2 separate regions of the Homo sapiens genome follow, and region 2 is linked to region 1. The links are contacts of gene promoters, found by promoter capture Hi-C in blood cells and fetal thymus (Javierre and others, 2016). All regions are on one chromosome and are shown on one strand. The core of a region is centred on a gene start or on the middle of the fragment in contact, and the rest is flanking DNA. Distances in the headings are between cores, read along the strand shown. Region 1 holds the start of NUP98 (nucleoporin 98 and 96 precursor). Region 2 overlaps STIM1 (stromal interaction molecule 1).

Region 1 (2,794 bases), core at 229-2,728:
ACTGTAACCCAGTTAACTCGAGTTTCTTTTCGAATTTGTAAGACCGTCACAGGGAATGATCACTGCTCTCTTTTTGCTCTTTATTCCAGTTAGCTTCTTCCTCCAAAACGGAGTTTTATTTCCTCACCTTATTCTACTATAATACTTCACTTTGAATTCTGTACCTGAAAGGAGCCATGAGTTCCGAGGTACAACTACTACAAACGGACTCCTACCTGGCTTTCTAAGTCTTATCAATATTTCCTGCTTTCTATTCCAGTACTGTTATAAATCCCTAACTGACTCCGAGTCCTCATCAGCTGACACAAGTCAAAAAATTCAGATTTAGAAAGGGAAACAATGGCTTGTAGTTTTACCGATTTGTTTCCGATACATAACAACGCTGACGTTCTTTAACCATCTTCTAAGTTTAGTTCTCAAGCTCTAGGTTAGGGTACCACTAACGAAGCTTCCACCTTACCCGTGAACAGAGCTGGTAGCAACTAAACGGAAAACGCTGTGAAGACTACATCTACGTTTAGCTACCTAATGTCCATGCCGCACCGACCTCCTAAAGGGAATTCTTAATAATGGGAGACTGAAATATCCAGGGAGGGTGAGGTAGTAGAAAACTGTTTAGACTGTCAAAAATCTGGCATTGGCTAATCCTGCCTGTTACTCCGGGCCTCGGTTTCCCCATCTACAAAACTGATGTAAGGTAGGGGGATTGACTTAAACAATTTCTAAAGTCCTTATGGCTATAGTAATCCAGAAACTCAATCTGTCTCCTCATCTGGCTTTACACTGAACACGTGGGAAAATAGAAAAGAACCTTTTGCTCCACCGAACCGACTCCTATTCTCAGATATTATCTTAAAAATCTCCCAAACTTCGGACTCACCCTAATCCTCGGGGTGCCCACTTCCCTTATGGAGAAGCCAAGGCAAATAAAGCCCAGTCCCACATGACGGTCAAGGAAGTGCGGGGCAGACCGTATTCAGGGTTTCAAGGCGCTGACCCCGGAAAGGCCAGCCCACCGTGGGGTCCTTACACCACTGAATGAATGAGTACAACCAGACAGACACCCACTCGCGTGGGCAGCAACTGGAGACCTCCAGGCCTAGACCCCACTGATGTCCATTCTCTCCCAGGGCCTCCAAAGCCGGGCCTCCCGGGCTCCGGGCCCCCGGGTCCTCAGCACCGCCCCTCTCTCAGGCCAGAAGGTGCGCGCAGCGGCGCTAGACTTCGAAGCGGAGAGGCCCTGAGACGCCCCGCGCGTCCGCCCGCCCGGAAGGGGGGAGAAACCTGCCGGTCTCGGCCGCTGCAGCTCGGGCTCCCGACTTACCGCGGTTCGGTGGGGAAGGGGAAGTGTCAGGAGTCCCCTGCTGCCACCCGCCGCTCACAGAGCAGCGCGCGGCCCCCACGAAACCGTCGCCGCCGCCGCTACCACCCCTGCCACCGACCGCCGCTTCGGGCGCAGCGCGCAGAGGGCCCGACTGCGTCACACGCCGCCCGGCGTCAGAGGCTCGTTGCGGACGCTCCGCCCTCGCCGTCCGCGAATTGGTGGACGCGGCCGCCACTCTGGGTCGACCCTGTTATTCATTGGGCAACGCGTCTTTTGAAACCGAACTGAAGGGGGAAGGGGCGAGAGGGAAGAGGAGGGGCAGAAGGAGTTCGGGGAGGCACAGGGTAGGAGCGGTGAGAGGGCCGTGGAGTCCCGCCCCTCGCCGCCGCGGTTGGCGGGAGCGTGTCGTGACGTCACACAGGGCCTCTCGAAGTGGGCTTGTGAATGGCTAGATTGGGAAGCACCGGCGGGGTGTCGGGAAGGGTGGTGACGCAACATAGAGACTCCGCCCCCTTCCTTGGAGCGCCGCGACTCGGGCTGAGGGAGCTCGGGCCAATCAGAGGGACGGCCCCAGAATGGCATGGTAACTATTCGACCCTTTCCTTGCCCCGGTCCGCCGGCGCTGCTGGGAAGGCTTCCTAGTCTCTCTGCCCGCACTTCCCGCCCAGACCACGTGCGGAGCCTGAGGGCCCTCTTGGAAGGTCTGTCTGTCCAAAGAGTTTGCCCGAGGCTTCTTCAGGGCCCTAAATCCTGACCCTATTCTCTCCTGACCCATGCTCGCCCCAGCACTTTCTTTCCCTCCCTGAATTTCTAGGATGGACATTAGGAGCATTAGAGATGCCCTAAGGGACTGGCCCACCAAAGGGCCTGGTACAAATGAGGATTGTTGGAACGTCTTTCCCAGCTGCACGTGGAGAACCCCTAATTCTTTTTTTTTCTTTTTCTTTTGAGATGAAGTCTCGCGTTGTCGCCTAGGGTGGAGTGCATTGGCGCAATCTCGGCTCACTGCAACCTCTGCCTCCCGGGTTCAAGCGATTCTCCCGCCTTAGCCTCCCAAGTAGCTGGGATTACAGGCGTCCGCCACCAGGCCCAGCTAATTTTTGTATTTATAGTAGAGACGGGGATTTCACTGTGTTGGTCAGGCTGGTCTCGAACTCCTGATCTCAAGTGATCCACCCGCCTCGGCCTCCCAAAGTGCTGGGATTACAGACGTGAGCCACCTCGCCCATGAACTAATTTTTTTTTTTTTTTTTGAGATGGAGTCTTGCTCTGTCTCCTCTTTCTCCCAGGCTGGAGTGCAGTGGCACGATCTCGGCTCACTGCAATCTCCGCCTCCCAGGTACAAGAGAGTCTCCTGTCGTAGCCTCCCGAGTAGCTGGGATTACAGGCACTCGCCGCCGCGCCCAGCTGATTTTGTATTTTTAGTAGAGATGGGGTTTCACCATGTTGGCCAGGCTGGTCTCGAACTCC
Region 2 (2,857 bases), core at 221-2,720, 240 kb after region 1:
CTTCCTCAACCTCACAAAGTACTGGAATTACAGGCGTGAGCCACTGCATCCAGCCTGCATACTTGTTCTATCAATTGTTAGAGAGGAGTATTTAAGTTTCCAGTTATAACTGTGGATTTGCCTATTTTTCCTTGTAGTTTCTGGTTCACGTATTTTGAAGCTCTGTTACTAGGTGCATAAAGATTTAGGATGATTATTTCTTAGTGATTAACTGACCCCTTCAACATTATGAAATGAACTGCTTTATCCTTCGTGGTAATCTTTGCTCTGAAATCTACTTTGATAAAAATATAGCTGTCTTTTGACTGTTGTTAGTTTGGAATGTCTTTTTCCATCCCTCTACATTTAATCTATTTGTATTTTTATATTTAAAGTACATTTCCTGTAGGTGCATATAGTTGGGTCCTATATATATATATGTATATTTTGCAATGTGACAATATCTGTTAATTGCATTATTTAGACCATTTACGTTTGGTGTGATTATTAATATGATTAATCAAATATGATTGATATGATTATTAATATAAGATAATTTAGGTTAGTCCATTTTCTTGCTATTTGTTTTCCGTTTGTCCCATCTGTTCTTTAATTCCTTTTCCTACCTTTTCTGCTTTCTTTTGGGTTAATTCAGTATTTTTTATAATTCAATTGTATTTTCTTTGTTGGCTTATTAGATATAACTGGTATTTTAGTGGTTGCTTTAGGAGATAAAAGATATGTATCTTTAACTCATCACAGTCTTTTTTTTTTTTTTGAGACAGAGTCTTGCTTTGTAACCCAGGCTGGAGTGCAGTGGTGTGATCTTGGCTTACTGCAACCTCTGTCTCTTGGGTTCAAGAGATTCTCGTGCCCCAGCCTCCTGAGTAGCTGGAATAACAGGTGCATGCCACTACGCCCAGCTAATTTTTGTATTTTTAATAGAGATGGGGTTTTGCCATGTTGGTCAGGCTGGTCTCGAACTCCTGACTTCAGGTGATCCGCCTACCTCGGCTTCCCAAAGTACTGGTGTTACAGATCTGAGCCACTGCACTGGGCCTACTTTCAAGATATATTATAACATGTCACATGTAGTATAAGAAGCTTCCAGTAGCACATATACCCTAAAACTTAAAGTATAATAATAAAAAAAAAAAGAAGCTTCCAGTAGTGTATTTTCATTTCCCTCTCTCAAGCTTAGATTTTAATCCTTGCACTGTGGCTTGGAAATTCAAGGCCATAAGCTGGGGCAATTGTATAACTTCCCTCATTTGTTTCCTATCTCTCAAGAGTCATTGTCCTTTGTAGGCTGATGTCCAGTGTCCTGAAAACCATTATTTCATATATGTTGTCTTTTTTGGGAGGGGTAATTTTAATTCAGGAGGGAGGGTAAATTCCATCTCTGGTACTTCAGCTTACCCTGAAACAGAAGTGTCAGCTGAATCTTCTTTTGCTTGGGCCGTTGTTCTTCATATACCATTATTCTTGGCCCAGCCTAGCTCTACTGCTATGTATCTTTCACTTGGTTCCAGATCTGACGAGGTCTTTGCTTACATTTTTCAGAGTTTTCCCATTTTTCTCTCATACATGAAACAAACAAGTTAGGGCATCAAATTTCTGGGTGTAAGAAATATTCTCAAATGGAAGTTGGAGAAATAAAGATACTGTTAAAAATGTTACAAGTAAATACCTGTATAGCAATAAATAGTAATCATGTTATTTTGAAAGAATAAATACTGGCTTTCCTATTGGTCGGATAACCCTTCAGCTTGTGTAGGAGTAGCGATAAGCTTAGATCACAACTGCTGTCTCATTTGAGACTCAACAGAATAAGATATCCAAAGCTTAGTAATTTTTGATGAAAAAAAATTATAGAAAATGTTGGCTCTGTGTGGTGACTCATGCCTGCAATTCCAGCCCTGTGAGAGGATCACTTGAGCCCCAGAGGTTGAGGCTACAGTGAGCTATGGTCATGCCACTGTACTTCAGCCTGGGTGACAGAATGAAACCCTATCTCTGAAAAAAAGAAAGAAGCTGGGCGTGGTGGCTCATGTCTGTAATCCCATCACTTTGGGAGGCTGAGGCAGGTGGATCACAAGGTCAGGAGTTCAAGATCAGCTTGGCCAACATGGTGCAACCCCGTCTCTACTAAAAATACAAAAATTAGCTGGGCATGGTGGCGGGCACCTGTAATCACGGCTACTCGGGAGGCTGAGGCAGATAATTGCTTGAACCCAGGAGGCAGAGGTTGCAGTGAGCTGAGATCATGCCACTGCACTCCAGCCTGGGCAACAGAGTAAGACTCCATCTCAAAAAAAAAAAAAAAAAAAACGAAAGAAAGAAAATGTCAGTGATTTTTTTTTCATGTTTATCTGTGAGATGTTAGTCAGATGTATTGAAATTAAATGTCCATCTGTAATCTCAAAATGAATTACCTTATCTGGGAGAAAAGAGTAATATGTACACATAAATAAAAATCTGATGATATTTTATTTTATTATATTGTACTTTTTGATGGTGTCTCACTCTGTTGCCCAGGCTGGAGTACAGTGGCGTGATCTTGGCTCACTGCAACCTCTGCCTCCCAGGTTCAAGTGATTCTCCTGCCTCAGCCTCCCAAGTAGCTGGGTTTGCAGGTGCCCACGATGACGCCCAGCTAATTTTTTGTATTTTTAGTAGAGATGGGGTTTCATCATGTTGGCCAGGCTGGTCTTGAACTCCTGACCTCATGTGATCTGCCTGCCTCGGCCTTCCAAAGTGCTGGGATTACAGGTGTAAGCCACCGTGCTCAGCCCTGATGGTATTTTATATCTTGAGAGTTTATTTATATTTTAATGCTGTAGTTCTCTGTTATTCCTTATCTACCTCTGTGGTATTG

What was found. Contacts are between HindIII fragments. The CHiCAGO score rates a contact against its expected background, and 5 or more counts as called.
Region 2: a fragment that was not itself captured here is called in contact with the fragment with the promoter of NUP98 in region 1 in 12 of 17 cell types (naive B cells, total CD8 T cells, total CD4 T cells and 9 more); the score reaches 17.9 in naive B cells.

Annotation. Positions count from the first base shown.
Region 1 is chr11:3,796,076-3,798,869 of GRCh38, forward strand. NUP98 (nucleoporin 98 and 96 precursor) reads right to left here and starts at 1,479. Exons shown (of 33, transcript NM_016320.5): 1 at 1,325-1,479. It also overlaps a transcript of PGAP2 not described here. RefSeq lists silencers at 1,156-1,245, 1,326-1,495. The HindIII fragment of the contact is 2,489 bases long and covers 447-2,794 here.
Region 2 is chr11:4,037,296-4,040,152 of GRCh38, forward strand. The region is part of intron 3 of STIM1 (stromal interaction molecule 1); the gene reads left to right. Among named protein-coding and RNA genes, the nearest start is that of RRM1, 56 kb to the right of the region's middle. The HindIII fragment of the contact is 594 bases long and covers 1,174-1,767 here.